Regions from separate parts of the Homo sapiens genome. Here regions 2, 3 and 4 are each linked to region 1. Evidence: promoter capture Hi-C in human tissues and cell types (Jung and others, 2019). All regions are on one chromosome and are shown on one strand. The core of a region is centred on a gene start or on the middle of the fragment in contact, and the rest is flanking DNA. Distances in the headings are between cores, read along the strand shown. Region 1 holds the start of STK32B (serine/threonine kinase 32B). Region 2 overlaps STK32B (serine/threonine kinase 32B). Region 3 overlaps LOC101928306 (a long non-coding RNA gene). Region 4 overlaps STK32B (serine/threonine kinase 32B).

Evidence for each region. The method cuts DNA at HindIII sites, captures the fragments that hold promoters and counts their contacts. A contact is called where the count stands out against the background at its distance.
Region 2: a contact is called between a fragment that was not itself captured here and the fragment with the promoter of STK32B in region 1, in 3 of the 25 tissues and cell types used here (H1 embryonic stem cells, aorta and heart right ventricle).
Region 3: a fragment that was not itself captured here is called in contact with the fragment with the promoter of STK32B in region 1 in 2 of the 25 tissues and cell types used here (aorta and bladder).
Region 4: a fragment that was not itself captured here is called in contact with the fragment with the promoter of STK32B in region 1 in 3 of the 25 tissues and cell types used here (H1 embryonic stem cells, IMR-90 fibroblasts and mesendoderm cells).

Annotation. Positions count from the first base shown.
Region 1 is chr4:5,048,630-5,055,529 of GRCh38, reverse strand. It overlaps STK32B (serine/threonine kinase 32B), which reads right to left and starts at 4,050. Exons shown (of 12, transcript NM_018401.3): 1 at 3,615-4,050. The coding sequence starts at 3,666. RefSeq lists an enhancer at 2,810-3,348. The HindIII fragment of the contact is 7,679 bases long and covers 433-6,900 here.
Region 2 is chr4:5,163,306-5,170,205 of GRCh38, reverse strand. STK32B (serine/threonine kinase 32B) reads right to left here. Exons shown (of 12, transcript NM_018401.3): 3 at 1,756-1,907. Among named protein-coding and RNA genes, the nearest start is that of STK32B, 120 kb to the right of the region's middle. RefSeq lists an enhancer at 3,661-4,860. The HindIII fragment of the contact is 6,524 bases long and covers 64-6,587 here.
Region 3 is chr4:4,964,089-4,970,988 of GRCh38, reverse strand. The region is part of intron 2 of LOC101928306 (a long non-coding RNA gene); the gene reads right to left. Among named protein-coding and RNA genes, the nearest start is that of CYTL1, 52 kb to the left of the region's middle. The HindIII fragment of the contact is 5,372 bases long and covers 1,842-6,900 here.
Region 4 is chr4:5,120,579-5,127,478 of GRCh38, reverse strand. All of the region lies in intron 1 of STK32B (serine/threonine kinase 32B), which reads right to left. Among named protein-coding and RNA genes, the nearest start is that of STK32B, 73 kb to the right of the region's middle. The HindIII fragment of the contact is 9,200 bases long and covers 1-6,900 here.

The DNA.
Region 1 (6,900 bases), core at 2,801-5,300:
CAGAGGACTGATCTGGCCCATGGCATGTTTTAACAGGATCACTCTGGATGCTGCATTGAGGGGACAGTGACGGGGGTAGGGACAGACCATGTAAGGACTTAGGGAGGTGACTGTAATAATCCAAGCAAGAGCTGTGACATGGCTTGGACAAGAATGGTAGTGATGGAGAAGGCAAGAAATGGCCAGAGCCAATTTATTCCCCTAAAAGCACTTTGTGAGCTCGGGCAACAGAGTGAGACCTTGACTCTAAAAAAAAAAAAAAAAAATTAAAAATTAGCCAGGCATAATGGTAGAAGCCTATTGTCCCAGCTACTTGGGAGGCTGAGATGGAAGGACCCCTTGAGCCTGGGAAGTTGAGGCTGCAGTGAGCTAAGATCCCACCACTGCCCTCCAGCCTGGGTGACAGAGTGAGACCTTTTGTTTTTTAAGAACAAAAAAGCACTTAATGTTGCTTTTCCATCATTTGCAACTGGAGGAGGCTCAGCTAACGTGCCCTTTTTCACCAAATGTTAGATGCCATCCACAGTAAAGCCACCATTATTTTATGCAACACTTGGAAAAAAAGCAACTCTGCCTATTAATCTGTGGCATGATCCTTTCTCTGCTTATTATATATCATGTGAGCGTGAACAGCTATGACCACTTGCACACAATGAGTTAAACTTTTGCCTTAGGAATGTGGATGACGGTCCTGTCACAATTACACAATGGCAAATATTTAGCTGTGGTTTAACATCAAAGTACTTAAAAATCAGACTTGTTCTGGTCAGGCAGGTGTTTGCATCTTCAACCTTCAACCACGCAATGACTATGGTTTGGGAGAGCTTGTTCACTGGACCATGTCACTCCCTGCTTAAAACCCTTCAGTGACTCCAAAATGCCTATAAGATCAAGTCCAAACACCTGACCACGGCCACTGGGCCCTTTAAGGCCGGCCAGGCATTCAGGGTTCATCTTTTGTGCCTTTCAGCTTCATACTCCACAATGCAGGAGTACTAAGCCCCCTCAATCCCCCCACATGAGCCAGGCTTACTCTTTACCATCTGCCTTTGCACATACTCTTCCCTTTCTCTGAAACGTCCTTCCCCCTTCTATCACCCACTTCTTCCCCCCAGGTAACTCCTGCCATTTCTGCAAGATGCCAGTCTAAAAGAGGAGGCCTTTTCAGATCCCTCCCCCCACTCTGAGTTAGGGACCCTCCTCCAGGATATCAGTCGCCTGAGCTCACCCACGTCAGGGCACTTACACACCCTGTGTTTTCCAGGTGGTTTACTTGCTCTGGGAGCAAATTGTTAACACTTTGCCTTCATCCTCCTCATATTCCCGGTCCCCAGCACAGGGGTGGGTACAGAAAATACAAATAGTAAATGCCTACGAAATAAATGAGTCGGTTGGTGGCAAGTAACACTGTTTTACCTGTACTAGGAAACGTGTGAGAGACATACTGGCAAAATCAAACAAGTTAATGTTTCACTGGGCTGGGCAATGGCAAAATGAGGAGAGCCCTAACCTTATATTTATTTATATTTATTTATTTATTTATTTATTTTGAGATGGAGCTTCACTCTTGGTGCCCAGGCTCGAATGCAATGGTGCGATCTCAGCTCACTGCAACCTCCGCCTCCCGGGTTCAAGCGATTCTCCTGCCTCAGCCTCCTGAGTAGCTGGGATTACAGGTTCCCGCCAACATGCCCGGCTAATTTTTGTATTTTTAGTAGAGTCGGGGTTTCATCATGTTGGCCAGGCAGGCCTCTCCTGACCTCAGGTGATCCGTCCACCTCGGCCTCCCAAAGTACTGGGATTACAGGCATGAGCCACCGCGCCCGGCCTCATAACCTTGTATTTTAACAAGCACCGAAACAGGCAGTTAACCTTAGGCCCAATCTGCTTATAGAATAAGGAACAGGAACAGGAAAATCAAAAGGTTGGCTACACCAGAGATAACTATTTTGCCAATGAATATTTTCAAGCTGGGGATAAATGACAGAGACGGTTTTCAATATAAGGGTGGCAAATTTCCTCTGTAAATAAAAGAGAAAGATGCTAGGAAAATTAGCAAAAGCATGACCTTTGACCCAGGCTAGAACCACAAGCCCGTGCAATTGAGGGTGATGCTGCATAGTGTTCAAACTCTTACTGGGACATGCAAGAGCCTCCATTACCTCTGTGCCCACCTCTCCTCTGTCCACAACTGGCTCCTTACCTGCTCACCTGCACATGCTCCAGACTAAAGATCAGGAAAAGCTGGGGCCTCTCTGTGCCCCCAAGACCCTGCACTGGTTTCTCAATGCCCTTATCACCATGGACGGTCATTCAGGGCCATTAGACTAGGAACTCCTTTAAGGAAGGCTCTCGTGGGCCTGACACAGCAGGTGCTCACTTAACCTTGACTGTGTTCATCTATCTTTTTGAGAAGGGCTGTCCAGGCAGGCATCTGAGTAGCACTCACAGCCTTGGGAGTTCTAGAAGCCATCCATGATGTACGCACACAGCCAGTGCCCTGGGTAATGATGACAGGCACAGCTTTCAAAGCAGACTGTCCTGCCTCAAGCCCAGCTCTACTTCTTACCAGCAGTAACCAGGACAGACCCCTTTCTAAGGTAGCCACCTCAAGGGGCATGAAAAGGATGGAGTGAACACTATGTGCTAGCATGGCTGGAACATAGTAAGTGCTCAGTATGTCTCAGCTCTTACCTGGGGCACAGTGGAGACTGGCGAGTCAGCACAGTAGGAAACCAGCTTTGAGAGGCAGAGGGCTCTTAACATAAAAAACGGCACAGCTCGGTACTGCTTGCATTTATAAGGCACTTTTCACGTGGATTACTAGTGGTTAAGCTTCAAACAACCCTATAAAGTAGCTAGTGGTATCATAACTCACATTTCATTGATGAAGGGACTAATGTTTCAGAGAGGTGAAGTAAGTTTTCCAGGGACACGCTGCACTGGAAAGAGGGTTCTGCTAGTCCAAATAGGGAGCTCTATCGACCTGAACCGCAAGGATCCAGCCAGGAAGTTGAGATGCGGTTGGACAGCCTACACCACTTCTGCGCCAGGGGGAGGCTGCCCAGAACAGGACGCCCTCCTAGGAACCACAGAGTTTAGCAAAGAAAAGTTTCCCTCTGTCCTGGGTGATTGAGGAGAGCTGCATCCAACAGGCCCTTGCACGAGACCAAATGCGTCGTGGGCACGCGCACACACACACAGACACACGGTGCAACCCGCCCTTCCAGGCCACCTCCGTCAGCCTCAGGCTCTCAAGGAAACCTCGGTTTCCTGGGGAGCCCGAGCCTAGAACCATCCCGACTGGCCTCCGAAGTCAACTCCTCCCTTCCACACCCCCAAGTGCAGGTTTCGGGTTCAACTCTCTGAAGCCGCCTCCCCAGTCCCGCGCTAGGCACCGTCCCGACTACTAAACGGCACTGGGTACCTAGGAGTTGCCTCAGCAGAAGCGCCGCGCCTGGCACGGGTCGGGCACACACTGCATTCGCTGGGCGAAGTGGCCATGCCTGGGTCCCCGCGCCGGGCAGCATGCGGTGCCCCGCAGGGCTCGGCCGAGGGTGGTGGAGGAAGGGGATGCCCCGCGAAGCGGGAATTCGCACCTCTCGCTCTCTTACCTTCCTCATTCTCGTCAAACACGGGGGGCTTGTGGGAGTGGTTCCCGCCCATATTCCGCCGTTGCTGCCGCTGCTACATGCCCGGCCGCTGGGATGCCGGATGCGGGATGTGGGACGCGCGCAGAGATGCGGGATGCCGGGGGCGCGCCCAGTCCGGGTTGTAGCCGCGCGCGGAGCCCGAGGGGGCCGAGCACCGTGCAGGGGCGGGGACGGCGTCCCCCTTCTCCTGGACGCCCTTCCGACTGCGCTCGCAGGGACCCCGCTCTCGCCGCGCCTTCCGCCGTGCCCCGCCTCGGGCTGCGCTCGCAGCTCCTTACTCCAGTGCCCGCCCGGGAACCCGGGAGCTCCTCGCGCCGGGGCCAACGTGCGGCGCTCCTCGCCGGCTACAGCGGGCGGGAGACGCGAGGCGGCGCGGGAGCAGGGGAAGGAGGGGAAGGAGCGGGGGAGGAGGGGACGGACGAAGGCAGCACGCAGTGGGCGGCGGCAGGGCGGAAGGAGCTGAGAAAGGGATCGGCCCGGAAGAATCTGAATCCCTGCTCGGCCCTCCTCCCTCGGCCGGGAGCTCGGTCCCTGCAGGCAGTAAGCGGTTTGTCAGCACCCACTATGGCCAGGCCTCGGCTACGCGCTTTGTTAGCACCATCCCACATCCGCCTCCGACAACCCAGCAGTAAGAAAGCATCGTTCATATTTTAGAGCGCAGTAGACGGAGGTCTAGAGGTAGAGGGGCTCTTAGGTCTGTGGTTAGTCGGCCCCGGCTGCGAAGGGAGTCCCAGGACTCCCCGCTAGCCTGTATTTGCCCATTCATATTGGGATGGGCAGTGGAGTGTCTGCTGGCTCTCCAACCGACGCTGTTCCTCTTAAGGTTTTTCTCAGTGTTTAATGAATGAAAGTATCTGTTTACTTTCTGACCCCTTAAGATTAGATACTAATCTGACCCCTTCATTGTACATGGGGAAACTGAGGCCCCAGACAGCCATAGTTTGCCCCAAACCATTCTCCCTGGGAATGGCTGGGCATGAGTCTCGGGATTCCCCCAAAATTGGGCGGCATCGGCGTCCGATTTAGGGGCGAGGCTAGCATGAGGGTCCCTGGGCTCCTGCGGCGGGAGCCTGGATCGGGAGATACGCGCCACAGTTGCGGGTGCCTAAGTAAGGGGTGCGGCAGATGCGCCCCAAGACGTGTGGGGCGAGCGCGGGTTCCCAGGACGCTCCCTGAGGGACAGGCAGGTCCCCCTGCCTTGCAGTCCTGCGGGCCCAGCTCTCCGGGACTGCAGGGAATCTTTGGCTACATCCTGCCATCTGCTGGGCGCCTGGAACCACTGTCCGTGCTTTGATAGAAAGCAGGGGTTCTTTGTGACTCTCTCCATCCTATCTCGTCCCCCAGTCCCCGTCCCCTACCTGGTCTCTCTCTCCAGTTCTCTCCCCTTCTTTCTTTTTCTTGGGAGAAGGGTGAGGGAAGCCGGGGAGACTCATACAGAAACAAAACAAAACAAAACAAAACAAAAAATCTCTTAAAGGCAGTGGGAAAGAACTGAGAAGGTCTGAGGCAGGCCCACCCACCATGACCCAGAGCTGGCTCTACCATTTACTGGCAATGTGTCCCACTTTGGAGTTCTTATCTGCAAAGTGGGCTGATTGATATTAACTCCTTGGGTTGTCTGTGAGAATTATATCAGGTAATATTTATAAAAGCAGGCAACAGTGCCCGGCATATAATAAATGATGAATAAATATTTCTTGCCTTTCATTCCACCAACAAGCATACACTGAGTAGCCAGTGTGCAGCAGGCAATGCCCTGAACACAGAGCTGGCCCCTAGCTCAAGAAGCATAGGGCGGAATGTGGACAGGCATGGGCTCTGGGCTCATTCTACCCAGGTTTCATTCTGCTTTGCCCCTCATTAGCCAGTTAACTTGGATAAATTACTTAACCTGTTCTGGACTCAGTTTCTTCATCTGAGTCCAGAAGGTGCTAATAAGAGAACTTTCCCTTTCTAACATTGTTATGAGGAATATATTGATATTGTGCTAGGCCGGGCGTGGGGGCTCACACCTGTAATCCCAGCACTTTGGGAGGCTGAGGCGGGTGGATCACCTGAAGTCAAGAGTTTGAGACTAGCCTGGCCAATATGGAGAAACCCCATCTGTACTAAAAAAACAAAACTTAGCTGGGTGTGATTGCCAGGCCTCTGAGCCCAAGCTAAGCCATCATAACCCCTGTGACCTGCACATATACATCCAGATGGCCTGAAGCAACTGAAGAATCACAAAAGAAGTGAAAATGGCCTGTTCCTGCCTTAACTGATGACATTACCTTGTGAAATTCCTTCTCCTGGCTCAGAAGCTCCCGACTGAGCACCTTGTGACCCTCGCCCCTGCCTCCCAGAGAACCCCTTTGACTTTAATTTTCCATAACCTACCCAAATCCTATAAAACTGCCCCACCCATATCTCTCTTCGCTGACTCTCTTTTCGGACTCAGCCCGCCTGCACTGAGGTGATTAAAAAGCTTTATTGCTCACACAAAGCCTGTTTGGTGGTCTCTTCACACGGACACGCATGACAGAAATGTCACCCACCTGTAATCCCGGCTACTCGGGAGGCTGAGGTGGGAGAATCCCTTGAACCTGGGAGGCGGAGGTTGCAGTGAGCTGAGATTGTGCCACTGCACTCCAACCTGGGTGACAGAGTGAGACTCCGTCTCAAAAAAAAAAAAACAAAAGAAAAGAAGGCATTGGCCAGAGAGGGTGCTGGCGCTGAGACTGGAAGGGCAAGGAATCAACCGGGTTGGAAGAAGAAAGGAGGCTACTGGTGCAAAGTTCTCCAGGCCTAGAGAGTGGGACACTTTGCAGATGCTGGGAGATGTTCCACACGGCTGGAATTAGTCTTGCAGTGCAGTGTTCAGTGACAGCGTGCATGTGTATTGAGAACTCTGCATGTCCAGCTCTGTGCTAACTCTTTGCAGGGTGCTAGGACCTCCGGCAACCCCTTCACTTCTCTGCTCCCCATCCATAGAGAATGTGCCTGACTCTGGTACTTCAAGCGCTCTGCATGGATTTTCTCATCCTCACAGCAACCCTGAGAGGTAGGTGTGTCACCATCCCCACTCTGGAGGAGACTGGGGCACAAATAGGCTAAGCCAACTCAAATGGTTGAGAAGTGCAAAGACCTAAGATTTCAATGCAGAAATTGGCCAGGTGTGGCGTTTCACGCCTATAATCCCAGCACTTTGGGAGGCCTAGGTGGGAGGATCACTTGAGGTCAGGAGTTCGAGACTGGCCAACATGGT
Region 2 (6,900 bases), core at 2,076-4,575, 120 kb before region 1:
CCTTAAGGAGTCCCACCTGAAAAACTTCAGGTTCAGAGATAATCATCTCAGCAGTATTTACATTGGCAAAATAATTAGAAACAGCCCAAGTAACCCACATGACAGAATGAAGGTTCGATTAGATGGCTTATTGTGCTTTTCCTTAGTGGAATATTATGTAGCCATTAAAAATGATTTACAAAGAGTTTGCAGTAACAAGGAGGTAGCGCTCCCGCCAGATATTAATTCAGAAAATGGAATACAAAATTTCTCTGAATGTTTATATATCAATAACACATACAGTTATATGTCATTGATATGAAAAAAAATACAAGAAAAGGAGTATAAAAATAATTACACACCAAAATTTAATCTGAGTCTGAAGAGCTTCTGGGTAATTTTTGTTTTCTGACGTATTTTATTTTCTATATTTTGCCAAGAACACATATTGCTGTTCGGATTAAAGATTTACTTTAGAAAATTCCCTTGCATAGCAATCAAAACATGACGGGGTTTATTTCTCCCAAACAATCAAAGTTTTTAGATCACTGCACAGAGACACGAAGAACTCTCGGTGGATACTGAGACTCCAGCAGACAAGGTTTGGTTTGGGTTTTCTCCATGGCAATGCCCATGTCTGTGGCACCTGGCACGCACACCTTGATTTTCTCAGATGGGACAATCTGTGTTCCTCTTTGTTCTCCTATCATCCAATGTTCAAAGTGCTTCTAAGTGTGCAGGGCAACTGAAATCAGTGGTGGTCAAGTATGTGCAAAGCTAGACTTACCCCTCCAGGGTGGCCATCCCAACTCTTAAGGTCAGTGGGTCAACTGATCCGCTGAATGAAATGGTCAGAATTTGTTTCCTAAAGCGGCCTGTCCTCCCTCTCCCCTTCAACACAATCCAGCTTAGGAAACATTTGCTAAGTCCCTCCAATGTGTCAGATACTGTGTTAGACTACCCAGAAACAAGCAATTTCTGTGTGAGGACAGATAAGTAACCCAATAACCTGGGTTCACTGTGATAAAGATGGCATTAGGTCAAACACAGGAGAAGACTGAGGTCGCGAGGGGCACTCAGCTGGCCTGTGGGTCTTCAAGGGCTCTTGACCTAAGGGTTTCCTAAGCTGGGTGCCAGGAATGCACAGGTGTTGGTTAGGGGACACTGGAGAAGGGGACGTGAGTGTTTTAGGAAGATATTTCACACGCAAAAGCACAGAGGCAGGGAACCACCAACAGGATGTGTTTCTAGGATGCACATTTAAAGTGAAGATAATAGCCAAGGACGGGTTGGAGTGAAAGTTCTGAAACATGGGTGATGGCAGGTTTTGGGGGCAGGATAGAGAATTCCGAATTTGGTACGTCCGTGATGGGCAGCCATCTGTACTGAAGTAGAATACTGGTTTCCAGTTGCCCTTCCTGCCATCAGCTGTATGGCTGTGACTTTCTGAAACACTGAGCTCCCCACTCCCTTTAGTAGCCTATCTTCGGCATTCTCTTATAACGTTCCACGTATCTTCTCAAATACGCAAAACACTTCTCCATTTATTTTCAACTCTGATTCATCAGATAAGAGGACAGAATTAAAATGAAAATGAAACATATGCCTATAGACTTCATCAGAAAATGTACTCTACAAAATACTTAAGAATAACTGAACCCAGAAAATTGCATCCCTTTCCCTTTACAATGCGGAAGAGTCCCTCTAGCAGAGGCGAATTTGCATTTGGCTCCCCACAGGGGAACCCACAGGAGCCCTGGATGGAGCCACACTCACCACAGATTGACCAGGAAGGGGTGCTCCAGCCCTTGCATGATCTGCAGCTCCCGGAAAACATTCCGAACCTCATCCCTCTCGATGCACTTCTGCTTGTTCATGTACTTCATTGCATACATTTTCTTAGTGTCTCGCTTCTGCACGATGCATACCTGAGCGACAGCCAAAGGAGAGAACAGTCAGGCCAACAATCGAAAAGGGAGACAAAGGAGAAATGTCACCCCGCACTGCATTTTTACTTCTGGATTCACGTCCCTGTTCTTGAAATCTGCTAGGGGAGCAGCTCTGCTAAGTTAGGCACAACCTCTCTGCATCTGCAGAATGGAGGAGTTGGACCAGATTCATCCATTTATTAAACATTGACATGAGCACTGGCCATGTACTAAGTGTTGAAAGAGGAGATGCAAACACAGAAGATGGAAGAAGCAGGCCTGCCCTCAAGGGGCTCACAGCCCACGAGGAAAATAGATAAATGCAAAAAGCACCAGTGACTATAACCCTGAGATGTGTGGCGTGCACGAGTGTCGCAGACTCCGTCTGTGCCCACCTGAATCTCCTCACCTTTCCCACTTCTGCACCTACCTGCCTGACTTCCATCCACCAGTCCTGCATTTCTCTCCCTGAGGACTCTCTTTTGCCAGTAGGGCCCACTTTGCTGCCCATGTAGCAGACCAGCCAAGCCAGGGAATTAATGTCCTCAGAGCAACATTCGATCCACGACTGTTAGAAACGGGAGTATCAGTACCCCCACTCCCTTGCCCGTCACCTGGGATGAGGCTGATGCCAGTGTTTACACTGGCTCCCGGAGTTTGTAAGTTTGCCTAGCCCCACAGTGGGGTAACAAGCTTAACACAGCACACCCTTTCCTGGCTGTCTTCCTTCCTACCCTTCTCTGTGTTCTTTCTGCCTCTCCCATGCCCTGTCCTCAAATCTTTGCCTTGGAGCCTGATTCTGGGGAAACCCAAACTCAGGCACATGGGTTCTGGGGGAGCACAGGAGAAGCTGGGGACAGCTATGATGACAGTGGTCCTGTATTGAGCACTTTACTGCAGGTCAGACACTGAGCAAATCATCTCCTTGACCATCTCACTGAATCCCTATAAGAACCTTATGGATAAAGCATGAGGGAGCTGTAGCCCCAAGTGTACTAATTAACTTGTTCAGAGTTCAACAAACCACCAAGTGGCAGGGTGGGGGTTCAAATCCATGAGGCCTGGACTTCTGAGCGACTGCCTTACCTGGGGGCAGTTGGGGGCAAGGTGGGAGGATGGGAGCTGTCAGAGAAGGCTCTCCGCAGGATCAAAACCAGGGGGCAAGCTCTAAAGGATGGGAAGATGGTAAGGGTGAAGGAAGAGGCTTTGAGGGAAAGGGAATCCTGTAACGGAGGGCGTGGAGCCGAGGAGACACAGCAAGCACAGCAGGAAAAGTGAGCAGGGCTGACATGCACATGTGGCATGGACAGTTAGCAAGGATTGTATGAGCTAGTCTTCCCAACACCCCGAGGAGGGACTGTATTGGTTCCTTGGACAGTTAGCAAGGATTGTATGAGCTAGTCTTCCCAACACGCCGAGGAGGGACTGTATTGGTTCCTTGGACGGTTAGCAAGGATTGTATGGGCTAATCTTCCCAACACCTCGATAAGGGATTGTGTGGGTTCCTCAGGTTGCTGTAACAGTACCTCAAACTGGGGGATTTAAACAACAGAAATTTATTGGCTCATAGTTCTGAGGGCTGGGAGTCCAAAACCAAGGTGTCAGCAGGGTCCTGCCCCCTCTGAAGGCTCCTGGGGGGATCCTCCTCTGCCTCTTCCAGAGTTGGGCAGCTCCAGCAACCCCTGGTGCCCTTAGCTTGCAGCTGCAGCTCTTCCGTCCTAGGCTCTGTTGTCACATGGCATCCTCCCCTACGTCTCTGTGTCATTCATCTTCTTATAAGGACACCAGTCAGAGTAGACTTAGGCCCACTCTCATCTAGTATGACTTCATCTTAACTAATTACACTTAAAATGACGCCATTTCCAAAGAAGGCCACATTCTGAGGTTCCAGGAGGAGTTGAATTTGGAGGGGTGGGACACCGTTCCATCAAGGACAATGACTATTACTATCCCCGCTTCACAGAGAGAGGAAAGTGAGGCCTAGAAAGGTTTTAGTGCTTTCTCGAGGCTCAACTCAAACCCAGGCTCTCTGCCTCCCCAGCTGTCACTTTTCACCCACAGTGTGGCCTTCCTGAGAAATGGGACACGCCGGCAATAACGCTGTTGGCTTGAGGACCCAGCGAAGGAACTCGGGGTTTTCTCCTGGTGTCACAGCCTCTCTTCTGTTGGAAATTGACCCCACTCAGCTCTGACACGTTGCAAATCTATTCAAGGCAGATACAGGACGATGGCAGAAGCCTGATTTCCGACTCCAGCTTTGGTTCTTTGTGCCTCTCTTGGCCTCAGTCTCCGCATATTTCTGAACTGAGTCAGCAAAACCCACCCGGCACCACTGGGGTGAAACCAAACAGGAGCAGGAAGTGGGAGTGCCAGGCGGCACTGAGGGACGATAAATGTCAACTGCATCTCAATGTATTAGATAGCACGTTGCATGAAATCTCCAAAAAGATGTTTTTTCCACAGAGTAAAATTTACGGCATGAGGTCGAAGGCCCACAGAACACCCATTTCCAGTAGTGAACGTGAGAATATAAAATGCAAGGAGGCAAAGGTATGACGTGCAAACGTACCTCAGGGGTCCTGGCTTTGTGGGAATCCAAGCAAAGACTTCTGGAGGCCCGGGCACCAGGCTCTGAGACCCATGTCTGAAGCCAGACATGTCGTGGGAGGATAATCCCACTAATTAGAATTTGTGGTCTCTCTCACTTCTCATTCGCCTTCTCAGAAGAGACAGCAGGCACTGCCTCTGCGGGGCTGGGACCTGGCTGTCAGCTGGCTGCATCGCTGTGAAAAGCTTAGGCTGGGAGACAGTCTGTGTAGCGTCCCCGGGGCTGCGTCCCTTCAGATAAAGACATCCATGGCGCTTCTGGGTTTCAAGGGACAGCTCTCACCTCAGCTCAGAGACATTTTAGGAATTGGAAGAGACTCTCCAAAATTAAATTAAAACTGGCTTTCAAAGGAGAACTCATGATTTCAATAGAGCTTGGAAGTTTGACTTTTCAATACAAGCAAAAGCAGGCGGTTGATACAGGATATTGGATGCAGCCTGGAAGTTTTGATTTGCAAATAAGAGAGGCCAAGGATCAGGGGTCTTGGCCAGCTTGATGCAGAGACCTGAGTGTGGCTGGCATCCATTCATCATCTGGGCCTTGACTACCTCCTCGGTAAATTCAGGGCTAAGACCTCATGCTATCTAAGGCACCTCAGAAAAATTCTGTTTCTCAGGAACACAGAGCAAAGAGAGCTACACCAGGAGTCAGGAAAACTGGGCTCTGGGCCTAGCCCTCTTGCAGATTGAGTGGGGCTGTGCACAAACCTCAGCCGCTCTGGACTTGCTTCCTCACTGACCAAGAAGGGTTGGTAACAACAGCTTAATTAACCTGACCAGGAGATAGAGGCTAAAAGAGAAAAAAACAAAAAACAAAGAGCTAAGCTAAATCTAATGCACTGAGTGGAGACAAGTGGGTCTCCAACGGGTGGGTCTTCCAGGGAGTCACAGAGTCACAGAGAGTTTGAGCTCAGGGGCTACTCCTGAGCAGGGCTTAAATTCCAGCTGTTTGCTGTGTGACCATAGGCAAGTCGCCCACCCTCTCTGAGCCTCATTCTGCTCATCGGAGATCCTGCTGTTCACCCTGTGATAATACAGTGTAAAGCTAGCAGCCTGCAACCTGGAAAAGGGCCCACTCCAGAATCTGACCATGCTGCCACCTTAATGTGGGACTTGCAGCCTCTAGAACTGGGAGAAATAAATCTTTGTTCTTTTAGACACCCAGTCTGCGGCATGTGTGATAGCAGCCCAGGCGGACTAAGACAGTGCTCTTATTTGGATAGGGGTCTTTGCAGATGTAATTAAGTTAAGGATCTCAGGATGAGATCAACCTGGATTAGGACGGGCCCAAACCAAATGACAAGCGTCCTTAGAAGAGAAGAGAAGGGGAGGAGACACATCCAGGCGGAAGGCTATGTGAGGACGGATGCAGAGGTTGGAGTGATGAATCTACAAGCCAAGGAATGCCGAGGCTGGCCAGCAGCACCAGAAGCTGGGTGATGGCATGGGACAGACCCACCTTCAGAGCCTCTAGAAGGAATCTACCCTGCCCACAGCTGGATTCAAGACTTCTGGCCTTCGAAACTGTAAGATAATAAATTTCCACTGTTTTAAGCTACCTGGTTTAGGAAGTTATCACAATCTATAAGGGTCCACCACTGCCACCCACCAGGGGCTAAATAACCTGGCCAAACACTCTGTAGTCCTCAGTTTCCTCTACTGTGAAATGGGTCTACAGAACCGGCCCTACCAGGTCCACAGTCGGGTCTCCATGGGACAGAGTGGGAAGAGCCAGCCATAGCATGTGGCCCATGCGGAGGAGCAGGAAACACAGGCTGGTGGAGTGAGGGGTAGACTGATGCCTGGAACCAAACCCTTAGCCTCTCGCAAAGTGTCCTCTCTCCATGGGTCCCTGTAAATACAGTGATTTCTGGTAGTTTAAGGTTTAATGTTTGGAATTTCAGAAATAGGGAGAATTTACTGATAGCTTCCAAACTGGCTACCCCACCTCTGCTCTGGTCTCTGCAGATATCCTTTTGCCTGGTGAGAATGTCTGAAAAATCAAAGACTTAAAGCCTGCAAGGGCATTCTTTTGCCTTCAGAAAATGTTTGAGGTCAAGGTCTTGGCATTCAAAGACCTTGTCCCCTCCAACATCTCTCTCTCTCTCTTACACACACACACACACACACACACACACACACACACACACACAGCCTTCACTCTATCTCAAACTCTTTAGAATTTCTTTGAAGAGTTTCTCTATCACCAACCTCTCCTGCCCTTGTTACCTCCTTCCCTGACCTACTGCCACCCAATTTACATCTTTCAGAAACTTCCCTTTAATCCTTGAAGCTGTATGCGGTGCCCTTCCCACTAAGCTGCCATAAATCCTGTTTCTACTGTAAGGCTTGACACACTGTATTATAAATCCCCGTTTTTATCTGG
Region 3 (6,900 bases), core at 3,278-5,777, 85 kb after region 1:
TGATAAATAGTTTAGTTCTGTGCACTAATGAAAGAAGAAACAACAGGAGAGGGAGAGATGGAGAAAGGAAAATGTGTATTCTCTATGACTCAACAGGTACAGTCCTTGGTCTATATGCTAGAAGAACTTTTGCACAAGAAAATGCAAATAAGGATGTTCCTTTCAGTGCTGTTTATAATGTCAAAGAATTGACAGCAACATATACACCAATCAATATGGAAATTGAAAGATCAGTGGTAGTATAGTTATATGACTGATTGCCATATAATAGTTAAAATACACTAGCCAGATCTGTTTGGATCAGCAAGGTTAGAGAGTGAGAAGAAGATCAAGTAGGAAAAAAGATAAGCTGTGCAAAAATATGTCCTGTAAGAAACATCTGTAAAATTTGAAGCCCAGAAAACAGCATTATATGCAGTATTCTTTATGAACATATGCATACATGTAAAAACATGAGAACCTGCATAGGAAAGTCACCCTCATATTCAGAAAATAGTTGTCTCTGAGATACTACAGAGAGACTGGGCCCAGAGGAGGGCAGAGATGGGACTCCAGCTATGTCTGCAGTGCTTAATTTCTTTTGAAAATAAAAATTTGAGCAAATAGGAGAAAATATTAACATTAAGAAATCCTGGTTGTGGAGCATGGGTCTTTGTTATGTTGCCCTCAGTAATTGTTTTTGTGTTTGAACATTTTAAATCAAGAGCAAAATAAAAGAAAGGCTTATCCTCAGTAGGATCCAAGATTTCTCTCTGGAACATTTCACAGCCACCCTCAGTCCCAGCAGGAAGCCTAAAGCCCCAGGGAAGGAAACCAAGAAGCACCTCAAGGTCCAGTTACAGGGATTCATGAAAGTTCACCTTGACACTTGGGTCTGTTTGCTTCCCCTCTCTAAGCCTCAGTTTCCTCATCTGTAATATGAGGGCAATGGAGCATCTGCCTCACAAGACTGGTGAGAATTGAATGGGCTGAGAGCTCTGGTTCATCGTAATCCCAGCAAATGCTACTGCCTTCTGACTATGAGCATTATTATACTAATTATCTCTTATCCCCAATATTTACCAAATATGAAGAGGAAAATCAAGTGCCCTAAGGACTTTCTTCATTCATGACTTTTCTCTCTTAAGCTGGAGGTCAAACCCAGGATGTCTTAAATATAAAAAGATGACCAATGGAGAACAAGCAGCAGTGAATAAGTCTCTGGCCACAGACTTAAAACTCGAGCTTCAGAGTGACTTGCTAAAAGCCTCCCAGCCTGAGATTTAGAGTCATTGGAATAATTCTTCAGGATAGGTCCCTGCCCTACCTCCAGTACAAATTCTGTTAGCCTGGCGGTGCTCGTTCAGATGTCAGGGACTTGCCGAATCTTCTCGCCATGTGGACTTGTCTTCCAAACAATCTCTCCTAGAAACCCCACCCTAGGTCAGCTGTCCAGATATGAGCCAAAGGCCATGGGCTAAGATCTGTGTTCCTGACTCACGCAGATGAGGCGCCCAGGGCGGGGTCTGGCCTGAGTTCCCATGAGTCACTAAAGCATGGGCCAAGGTTGACACTTGGAAAGCGACATTCTACAGTTTCCCATCAGGAGGTGCCTGCAATGACAGCTCAGGTTCACACTCAATCTTGGGCACATGGGTGCCTCTGTGCCATGTATACTTTTGTACATGTTTAAACAGGCCAGATTTTCTATGAAATGTGAAAGGAACGAAAAGGTGGCCATGTGTGCATTGCACATTCAGAGTTTCACTGTTTTCACAGTGACATTGTCAAATGTGTATCATGAATCCCTATCCTTTAGAGGCAGGAACTGAGAAGAACTCAGAGGGAAGGTCAATTGGCCATGTTCCCACAGCTAGGGAGGAGCAGAGCTGGGCCTGGGACTCAGGAGTTCAGATTCTGAGCTGCTATTCTGCCCACTCCTCCCTATGTGTCAGTCCGGATACTCTAAGAAGCAGATACTGAGGTGGGATGAAATGTGCAAAGCGGAAACACCTTCCTCTTTTGTTAGGGGAAATACCTGCAAGAGGACACAGGGAAGGCTGGGGAACTACATGGCCAGGTGCCCCCATGAAGGAGAGAGGGAAGGGAGGTTGGTGGAAGTGCCCTAGAGGTGCAGCCTAGAGAGGGTTGAGCAAAGCCACTGTCGTGTCTTCAAACCAAAGTCACTGTCAGGGAACTTCAGTTTCTCCCAGACCCTCAGAGAGCAGCTGCTGGGGCCCTTGGTCCATAGCTCCCTCTCTTGGAGGTCTTCACAGCACACTCATGATTGCCACACTGTCTGGCTCCCTTGGGATGTGGCTCAACATTTTGAAAAGCTATTCGCCGATACATCTCAGGAAACTTAAAATGAGCACAGCCTTTCCCCTATATTCTCCCCGTTCTAATGTGTTATCCCAAGGGAACAGGATAACTCCAGGTCCAGAGATGTCTTTACACACAGCATTGCTGAGGGTAGTGTCAGTTAGCAAAATAAATATATGTGCATGCATACAGACATACACAGAAATGATTTATCTGATAGATGAGATGGCACTTGTAGGGTCATCTGCAGAGGCACATGGGTTCCCAGCCAAGATAGTCAAAGGTTAAGGCTGATGATGTCACATGCATGCCCCAAGGGAATCAAAAGGTTTATTACTGACATCATGACTGTCTCTGGGGAGAGCCGGATAGGCCTCTCCAACAGGTCCAAAAATGGCTTGAGAAATTGGAAAAAGGAGACTAGCTTGGGGATTTTATCATGGCTAGGGGGCTGGGCTGGGTGAAAATTCCTGCACACTGTGGGCAAGGGCTTACCTGGTTGAATCTCCCACTGATGCCAATGGAGAGAGAATCCAGTTTTTTTTTTTATCAGTTTGCTCAGATAAGGAAAGGGTGGGTGAGACTGAAAAGGCATCATCAGTCAAACATGAAAAAATAAAAAAATAACAGCAGAGGCAGACTTTTTATGCAGTGAGAGGCTGCCATGCAATCATCTACTTTTCTCAAGTGGGTATGTTAATATGTTAAAAACTACTTTCCTGTATCTTCCATCTCTCTTTCACTTCTGAAGGCTCCAAGGTATGTGACCTGGTGATTCGCCTTGCAGTTGGCCAGGTGAATGTCCTGCTATAGGTAAAATCTCCCCATAGAGGGTCCTACAGCAGGCCTCAGCAGGCCTGGGTATGGTGGCAGAGTCAAGCTGAATTCTCCCCTCCAGCAATGAAGCTAAGATCTCTCTGACTCCTGAATCTATTTCCAACTTGTTTCCAGACTTTAAACTCCTTAAATCGCAACATAAGAATAACCTTTTGGGCCAGGCATGGTGGCTCATGCCTGTAATCCCAGCACTTTGGGAGGCTGAGGCAGGTGGATCATTTGAGGTCAGGAGTTCAAGACTAGCCTAGCCAACATGGTGAAAACCCATCTTTACTAAAAATACAAAAATTAAGTGGGTGGTAGTGGTATGCACCTATAATCCCAACTACTCAGGAGGCTGAGGCAGGAGAATCACTTGAGCCTAGGAGTCGGAAGTTGCTATAAGCCGAGATTGTGCCACTGCACTCCAGTCTGGGCAACAGAGTGAGACCCTGTCTCAAGAAAAGAAATAAAAAAGAAAAAAAAAAGAATAATCTTTTGTATATAATATGATATCACTATGTAAAACAAAAAATAACTTGAAATACTGAGTACTAGAATATTGTCAGTGGTTGACTTTCTATGATACTTTTCTGACTTTTCTATGTTTTCCAAATGTTTTGAGTGCATATTACCTTTAAAAATTGAAAGATATTTTATTTTAACATTCTCCTCAACGTTATTCTTGATCTGTGAACTCCCTTACAGCAGGGTTTAGATCTGTCATGGGAGAAAATCAGAAGTGAGACTAGAGAAGAAGGAAAAAGTGACGGTCCCCAACAGCTCTGTTAGGTATGAGCCCCCAAGTGAAAAATCACCACCAATGTGAAGCTTTGCAAAAGGTAATTCTTGTGCCAAGAAAAGTCTGGGCAGAAGTTTGCTTTGCTTTTTACAAAGTTACAAACTCTTAACACCCAATCTTTTTTTTAGGCAGATACGGTTCTGCTGTATTGCCCAGACTGGAGTGCAGTGGCTATTCACAGGTGCATTCATAGTACACTACAGCCTTGAACTCCTGGGTTCAAGGGATCCTTCTGCCTCAGTCTATAGGCATGTGCCACAGTGCCTGGCTCACCAACACCTAATTGTCTCTTAGGCTTTGGTATTCTGTTAATGTATTCATCAGGGAAGGCTAGGTAACCAATAGTCTTAAACATGGAGTAGCCCAACACAATAGAAGTGTATTTCTTGCTTATGTAACAGCCACAGTGGTGACAGAATAGCACAAGTGAAAAATGGATGTGGGAATATCCCTTATTTGATGAAGCCACTCAGGGACCCAAGCTGACCAAGGCTTTGCCCCCTCCAACTAGTTGCTTGCAAAGTTGCCTTCATCATCTCCATTCCAGACAATAGGAGGGAGGAAGGCCCGTGAGAGGTTTTCGTCAGCCAAGAAGGAAAATGGCACACATCACTTCTGCTCAATTCCATTTGGCTAGAACTTAGTTACTTGGCTACTTTCACTGCCACGAGATGGGGAAACATAGTGTCCACCAAGGAGCAAAAGACACGGATTTTGATGAGCCACTATCACTTTCTATTAGTGTTTTAAAAGCTGGTTCTATGCCCAGCAAATAATCACTTATAAAGGATCCAAAAATAATGCTGGATCCCACTAACCAAATCAAATAATTAAACATCTTCAAAACTTTAAATTACATTTATAAATTGCTTACACTCAATTTGATTTTAAATATCTCAATGATCTGACAACTCTTCCCAATACTGAAGTAATTCTTATACATCAGATAAACTTACATAAATAATGAAGTATATATATATGAGATATAGATATACGATATATAAGATAGGAGATCTATATCTTATATCATAGATATGACATCTACAGGATATGAGATCTACATCTTACAGATATAAGATCTATATCTTATATCTATATAAGATATATATTTTATATTATATATATAAGCTTAGTAAGATTTCCGCTTAAAATCACAAATATAAATCAATTATTGAACTGTATATTTAATTGGAGTCAAAAGACTACCACTCTAAAATATCAAATTATCTTAATACCAAATTTATACTGATTCCTTAATGTGAAAAAATAATGTGATGTGTTTTGAGTCTCTTACATACATTGAAAGCATCCTGGACTTTGTCTTGTTATGTGTGATTCTTTCTCCCTGGTCACACTTTGCCCCAGCCCACTGGATAATGCCAGAATTTGAGGGTTGTTATTGGCTTAGGTGTAATGAAGTGTTTTTGCAGGAGGTCTTGAGGAGGGTTGGCAGTCCCCCCATCAGCAACAACCTCAGTGAATCTCACTAGAGTTGCAAGCAACAGGAGGTGAACCTCCTCAGACAGGGGAGGAGTGCTGCTTCTGCTGGCAAAGGAGGCTTGGCAAAGTCTAGAAGTTCAAAGTTTTCATTGTCACTGGAATCTGCCCATGTGTCCATTTCCAATTCTCAAGGCCCTGCTGTTTCCCAGTTAACATCATAACTTAAAGATGAAATAATAAAAATGAAAACATATGCTCATGAATGTTTATAGCAGCTTTATTCATGACAGCCCAAACTGGAAACAGTCCATTCATAGGAAAGCAGGTAAACAAGCCGTGGTATTTAAACAATGATATACTACTCTGGAAAAAAAATGAACTGCCAATACACCCACAAACACAGATAATCTCCAAAATATGATGTGAGTGAAAGAAGCCTTACACAAGAGTACATATTAGGTGATTCCATTTATATAAAGATCTAAAACAAGCTAATCTAATCTATAGTTGAAGAAACAGAGGTTACCTTTACAGATGTGGGGGCAGGGATCAATTGGGAAGGGGTAGGAGGGAATATGTTGCGGGTAATGTCCAGACTTTCATCTCTTTGATTGGAATTTTGTCAGCTAAATGTCCACTTTCATAGTCTACAAGTTCTGCTTTCCAAATAATGGTTGGTCACAATTCCACTAAGTCTTCTGCTGCTCTGTAACTAGGACTCACTTTACTCCAGTTCCCAATAACACGCCTCTCAATTCATTTTGAGTCTTCACCAGCAGCACCCATATTTCTACCAACAGCCTATTTATGATGATTTAGGTATTCTCTAAGACAATATAGGCTTTCCCTGCTGTGCCCCTTACTTGATCCTGAGTCTTCACCAGCAGAGTTCTTAAGATCCCTATTTCTACTGAGAGTAGGTTCAAGGCAATTTAGGCCTCATCTATCATGCTCCTGAAAATTCTTCCAAACTCCACCAATTGCCCAATTCCAAAGTGACTTCCACATTTTGAGGTATTTCTTGTAGCAGCACAACATTTGTGGTACCAAACATGTATTATTGTTTCCTATTGCTGGTGTCTCATATCACCACAATATTAATGGCATAAACAACAAAATTGGTTATCTTACAGTTTAGGAGGTCAGAAATGCAAATAGGCCACACTGGGCTAAAACCAAGGTGTTGGCAGAACTCCATTCCCTTCTAGATGCTGTAGAGGAGATTTCTTGCCTTTTCCAGTTTCTAGAGACTGCCCACATTTCTTGGCTTGTGGTCCTATACCTCTATCTTCAGTCAGTAATGTTGGACCAAGTTCTTCTTATATTGTCATATCTTTGAGTATACTGCTTCTGCCTCCCGCTTCTGCTTTGAAGAATCCTTGTGATTATTCAAAGGCTCACCAAAATAAACTAGGATAAGCTTCTCTTTTTATGGTTAACTGATTAGAACTTTAGTTCCATCTGCAACCTTAATTCCCCTTTGCCATCTCTATTAGCCCATCCTCACACTGCTATAAGGAACTACCTGAGACTGGGTAATT
Region 4 (6,900 bases), core at 1,488-3,987, 73 kb before region 1:
GGTTCAATAAATGATGACTGGATGTAACTGAATGAGCCACATCTGTGCCACCGATGAAGAATCAGGGCAATTAATTCTGTCAATTCACCACAGCCCCAAACTCTTCCCTCTGCCCTCTGCACTCAAGAGCTGCCTGGTTATCAGACCCTCACACCAGGTGAACCTCACCAGGAAAGATTTTGTCCCAGCAGTCAGTTGTTTAAGTACTTAATGTGGTTAATATCCATTCCACACAACGAGGACATTTAAATTTTCTGGGACGCTCAACTGTATGGCAGCTAATGGAAGATGTTTGCTTATGTTTAACGGAAAGATAAGTAAAAATGTAATCATTGGCATCAAGATCCTAGCTTGTTTATTCTCGTCTGGTTAAGTTCCCTTCACGGCTCATGAATAAAGCACTTAGGCAGCACCAATGTCCATGGCACCTTTATCTCAGCATTGAGCATTCTGAGCATTATGTGAGTAATGCTGTCATCTGTGCAAAAGGAGAGGGAATAGACAGTATCCCAACTATTACCTATCACCACTCCCCTTTCTGCTGCTCAGTATTGAACTGAAAAATATCAGTAGACTCTAAACCACAAATTAGGTCCCAGACCCTGTATTATTCATTCCCTAAAAAAATCAGGAAATTGATAACTGGGTTATCAGTAGAAATGGCCATGTTTTAGATATTACAGAGCTGCCCGTCGAATCATTTGTTGAGAGATAGGCGGCCTTTACAGGTGATATAGTCATGTTACTTTCTATTCACCTGATTTGTCCTAAGTTGCACTGCTGAGGGTTGGTTTAAGAAGTAACTAAAGCTATCTCACCTGGCGCTGTCAGCTCTGATTCTACTCTACCAGAATGAAGAGCTAAATGACAAAATGATGTTTCCAAAATATCTTTTTATTTCTACAACTCCAACATACACAGGTGCTCATCTACTTTGCCATGGGAAGATGCCCAGGCAGCACTAGACAGTGAGACACTGGGCAGTGTGAGTAGCACAGCTGTCCTGGCGAAGACACCCTAGACTATCTGACAACCAGCCAACTCCCAGATAAGTGAGCGAGCCCAGCCACGCTCAGCAGGGCTGGCCTGCAGGGCAGTGGGGGCCTGAAGGCTTGCCGGAGTGGCTGCTAAGTAGTATTACCGACAAGGAGGTGGAGAGAACAAGGGAGGGATGGAGGGAGAGAAGAAAAATGACAAGAAGGGATGGAGATAAAGGGCACAAGGACTATCCTAAGAGGAGCTGGGAATTTTAGCTACAGGAGAACTAAAACAATTTTAACAAAGAAGTGGAGGACCCACTCTATCCAATAGTAAGGCCTTCTCTGTAGCTCCAGTACTCAAGACTGGGTGGTATGAGAAGACAAACAGACATATGGAGGAATGGAACATAATGGAGAACCCAGACCCACATGATGTGCCCAACTGGCTTTTGACCGAGGTGTAGAAGCAATTCAGTGGAGGGAGGATGGCTTCTCAACAAATGGTGCCAGGGCAACTGGACAATCACAGGCCAAAGTGAAGCTCAACCTAGGTTGAGGCAAGGGCCTCCGGTAGATCTGATGGGGGCAGATCACTGAACAATTCTCCTAGATGGGAATAAGAGGCAGCCCCTTCGTGGGGGTCTGTGGGAGAGGGAGGTCCACAGGAGGCAGAGTTACAAATGCAGTGAAGTCACTGGGTTTGAAGCAAGGAGTTGGGGAGTAGCTATTTTCACTGTGAAGGAGGAAGCAGACCTCTTGATGAAAGCAGAAGCAGATAGAAAGTGAGAGAACAGAGGTGCGGGGATGAGAGTAGAGAGGAAAACCAGGGAGACGTGTCCCAGATGACCCTGGAGCCCAGACATATGCATTTGGCCCAGTAGCTTCCAAAAGCCAACAGTGGGTGCAGCAGCAGGCTCAGCCTGCTGGGCATCTCCCTGCATCGCTGGCCTCAGGCCAAGTAAGGCTGCTCTGGTCCACCACGCCCACCCACACCAGGTGCTGCTGCAGCTGCCCCCATGACTCTGCCTGAATCCCTTGATTCCTGTCTCTAACCATAAGCTGCTCAGGGAGGGGGGCTGGAGGGACCTATTGCATTAATTTCTACATTCTCAGTTCCTAGCCCGAGGCCACACATAGGAAAGCTTTGTATTAGTTTTCTATGCTACAAAATAAATGATCAAAAATTCAGCAGCTCTCAGCAACACGCATTTACTAACTCACTGTTCTGTAGGTCAGAAACCTGAGCAGGATCAACAGGGTTCTCTGTTTAAGGTATCAGAAGACCAACATCAAGGTGTTGACCAAGCTGCTCTTGTTGGACATCTGGGGAAGAATCTGCTTCCCAGATCATTAAGATAATTAGCAGGATTCCGTTCCCTGCAGCTGTAGGACTAAGGTCCCTGTGTCTTTGCTGGTTGTGAGCTGGGAGTCTTCTCAGCACCTAGAGGCTTGTCTAGTATACTGCAACAAATCCCTCTTCCGCTTCAAATCTACCTTACTTTCCTTTCTGCTAATAGTTGAAGAATTCTGTCTGCTTTGAGAGAGTTCCTGTCATTAGATTAGGTCCACTTGCATAATATCCTCTTCACAATGTAATGGAACATAACCCAGGAGTAAGATTGGAGGGGAAGGTTCATGACGGGCCATCTTAACATTCTGCCTCCTACAGGACCCAGTAGGTGACGAATTCTTTGTTATGAACAACCAAAGAGTAAGGATGTCCCCTAAAACACACACGTGCATCTATATGCATGCTCACACATACACACATGCATACAGGTGCATGCACACAGACATGTACACATGTGTGCACACATACACACAGTCTTGTTCCCTTAGTAGCCTAACACAAACTGGAATAATAAAATGGGAAGCCTCATTGAGACCCTTTATATCTATGACCTGTAGTGTCCCTGTAGAGTTAAGATCTTCTGTTTTTTTGTATTTCCTTTCTGACCTTCCATGAGGATGTGGCTCTATTCCAGGCCCTGAGCCAGGAACAAACCAAACTCAGTCCTGGCCACCCAAGCCCTCACTTTCTGGTGGGTTAGGAAACACTGCATGAGATGTGGGAGAAGAGAGGGACTCTCAGGAGGCAATGGGCTGGGGGCCAAGAAGGGAATGTCCACCCACCTCTAAGAGAGTCAGGGAGGCTGCAGAACTAAGAAAATGCCGATGGTTTTACAGAGAAGAGCAGAAAGCACATAGCTCTCAGCAACCCAGTGAAACCTTTTGCTCACTCGGACATCTGATGAACTTAGAACAGCCGGAGATTTCGGGACTTTTTCTCTGTGAGAGAGCAAAATTATGTAATTTGAGGGAGTGAACTCAACAAGCTGATGGGGTTTGTGATAGTTCCCCTGGCCAACAAACTGGGAGGATGCTGACATTTTGGCAAAACCAGGGCATGAGAGACCTACTTTTTGAATAGATGATATGAGAATTTACCTTACCTCTCTTCTCCTCTGCTCTAATAAAACAGAGGTCACAGGTGTGTTGTGAAAAGTAAATGAGATCACACATGAGAAGGCTAACAGGCTTTGATCAGAGCCCCACACATACTAAGTGATCAATAAAAGGCAGGAGGGAGGATGGTGAAAAGGTGAAATGACATGAGGATGAGGAGATTGATGATGGTGGTGGTGGTGGTGGTAATCATAGTTGTCATGGATCAAATTGTATCCCCCCAAAACTCATGTGCTGAATCCTAACCCCCAGTACCTCAGAATGTGACTGGATTTGCTTATGTGGTCTTTAAGGAGGTAATTAAGGTTAAATGGGTCAAAAAGGTGGGGCCCTAATCCAATATGACTGGAGTCCTTGTAAAAAGAGGTGATAAGAACACAGATGCACCCAGGGTGGCCACGTGGAGGACACAGAGGGAAGGTGGCCGTATAAAGCCAAGGAGAGAGGCCTTGGAAGAAATCAACCCTGCCCACACCTTGATCTCAGACTTGTTGCCTCCAGAACTACAAGAAATAAATGTTTGTTGTTGAAGCCCCCCAGGCTGTGACACTTTGTTACAGCAGCCCCAACAAGCAAATATGATAACAATGATGCTAGCATTGTGATTGGAAAAGCACGGGGCTGGGTGTCATCAGGACCCCGGGTTATGGACAAAAACTCCTTCAATCCTCATTTGTGCCGGCTGCATGAGGCTCCAAGGAAGATGAAGCCGGGTGCAGAGATAGCAGCCGGGAGGCATGTAGGATCCAGGCAGTGAAGAAATGGGGGAAACTTGAGAGACACATGGGAAACTGACCAGCAAGACCACGGGACACAGCCAGAGAAGTGTGGAGCAACACCTTCTGTCTCTACAGCTTGGGGCATGAGTGACACATGGACAGCAAGGCCTCAGGGAGCAGAGCCCACAGGAGAAAGAAGAACCACTCTGTGGGGAGGTGGGGAAGTTGGCTTGGGTCCTGTTGAGTTTGAGGCAGCTGTGGTGATAAAGAAGGGGACCCAGCAGTGAGAAATGAGAAAGGGAGCTGGGATTTGGGCTCCACAGCCACAGGAGGAAATGCATGAGCTGGTGCAGGTGGAGCAAATAGAGAGTCAAGGCAGGGGCTGAGGGTGGAAGAGCACCAACAGCTGAAGTAGGTGGAGAAGGGACTCAGGCAGAGAAGGGGTGCACAGAGAGCTGGGAGAGAACCAGGGAGAGTATCATGGAACCCAGGCAGGAGAGTGCAGCAAGGGAGTGGTCCAGCAAGGCCAACGCCAGATGCAGTCAGCCCAGCAACCTCAATGAGAGCCAGGACCTGCACACAGTAAGTCCTCCAAGCGTTGGCAAAGGAACAGCTGAGTGAGTAAATGAGTGAATGAGTAAATGAATGAGTGAATGAATGAATGAGTAAATGAGTGAGTGAGTGAATGAGTCAGGGAATGAATAAGTGAGTGAGTGGGTGGGTGAATGAGTGAGTGAATGAGCAAGTGAGTGAGTGAATGAGTGAGTAAAAGAATGAGTGAACGAAGGAGCAAGTGAATGAATGAGTAAATGAGTGAATGTGTGTGAATGAATGAGTGAAGGAGTTAACAACTGAATGGATAAGTGAGTGAATGAGTGAAGTAGGTTAATGAGTGAATGAATGAGTGAGTGAGTGAATGAATGAGTGAGTGAATGAATGAGTGAATGAGTGAACAAGTGCATGAATCAGTGAATGAATGAGTGAATGGGTGACTGAATTAATGAGGTAATGCATGAATGGGTGAGTGAATGGGTGAGTGAATGAATGAATGAATGAGTAAATGAGTAAATGTGAGTGAATGAGTGAATAAGCGAGTGAATGAGTAAAAGAATGAGTGAATGAGTGAGTGAAGGAGTGAAGAAGTGAATAAGTGAATGAAGGAGTGAATGAGTGTGTGAGTGAAACAGTGAATGAATGGGTGAGTAAGTGAATGAGTGAGTAAATGAGTGAGAGAATGAGTATGTGAATTAGTGAATGAATGAGCGAGTGAATGAATGAGTGAGTGAATGGGTGGACACTGTGAACACACAATCACTCTTGCATGGTTCTATGGAGGTTGATCCCTTCTGTCCCATTTCCCACTGACAGTGAGATCTGCATGGACAGGCCTGGGCTGTGTTCTCCTCAACTTTTCTGGCCCCTCACTTGTGGCTGGCAGCCAAGTGGTGCCCAGGACAAGTCTCCTGAACAGGATGATTGTCCCTGGCCTGTCCCTGGGGACAGCAGTCTCCTTAGCTGTCACAGCAAGACTGAATACAGACTTTGGTGCCAGGCAGGTCCCACTCCAGCCTCATCCCTTCCACCCACTAGGACCTGAGGCTTTGTTTCCATTTCTGTGAAGTGGAAACAATAATATCTCTTACCTTCAGAAGTCATTAACACCCAGTCCAGTACACTACCTGGTGGATCAAACCTGCTCAACAAATTATGCCTGCTGTTATCCTTTGCCCTTGGTGTTATTGCTATCATAATTGTGATTACTGCTGATAGGTCCTATTCTCATTAATATTATTATAATGACCTGATTGCACAGACAGAATTGGAGCCAGCTTTTCCTCTTTCACTAGTTTTATGATCTGTTCCCTAATCCTTAATAGAAGAATCATAACAACAGCTATATAACAGGGTCGTTGTGGGACCAAATTCTTTTAATACATGTAAAGTGCTTACAATTTGCCATTGCAAGGAAATGGAACCAACCTAAATGCCCATTGACCAAGGAGTGAATAAAGAAAATGTGGTATATATACACCATGTAATACTACTCAGCCATAGAAAGGAACAAAATGGATTTTGCAGCAACTTGGATGGAGCTGGAGGCCATTATTTGAAGTAATTCAAGAATGGAAAACCAAATATCATTTGTTCTCACCTATAAATGGGAGCTAAGCTCTGAGGATGCAAAGTCCTAAGAGTGATATAATGGACTTTGAGGAGGTTGGAAGTGGGGAGGGATAAAAGACTAGATATTGGGTAAATGACTAGATTGAATGTACACTGCTGGGGTGATGGGTGCACTAAAATCTCAGAAATCACCACTAAAGAACTTATCCATGTAACCAAAATCCACCTGTACCCCAAAAACTATTGAAACAAAAAGAAGAAATAAAACCAAATATTCTTAAACGAAAATATATTATAATTTTATAATATAATTTCTTAAATGAAGTGTTATATTATTTTATAATATATAGAAATTATGTATATTTTTCTATATGTATTTTCTCTATATATTTCATACACATATGTAAAGTGCTTAGAAAAAAGCTTGGCATCAGATACCTTTTCAATCGGTCATCAGGCTTTTAGTTGTAATTTGTCACTAACACAGGAAATCTCAAAAATTCTCATGACTACACATATCATCTCTAAACATTACATTCACTCCACAAGTATTTTGTACAGTATTTCCACCTTATCCAAGGGAGATACATTCCAAGATTCCCACTGGATGC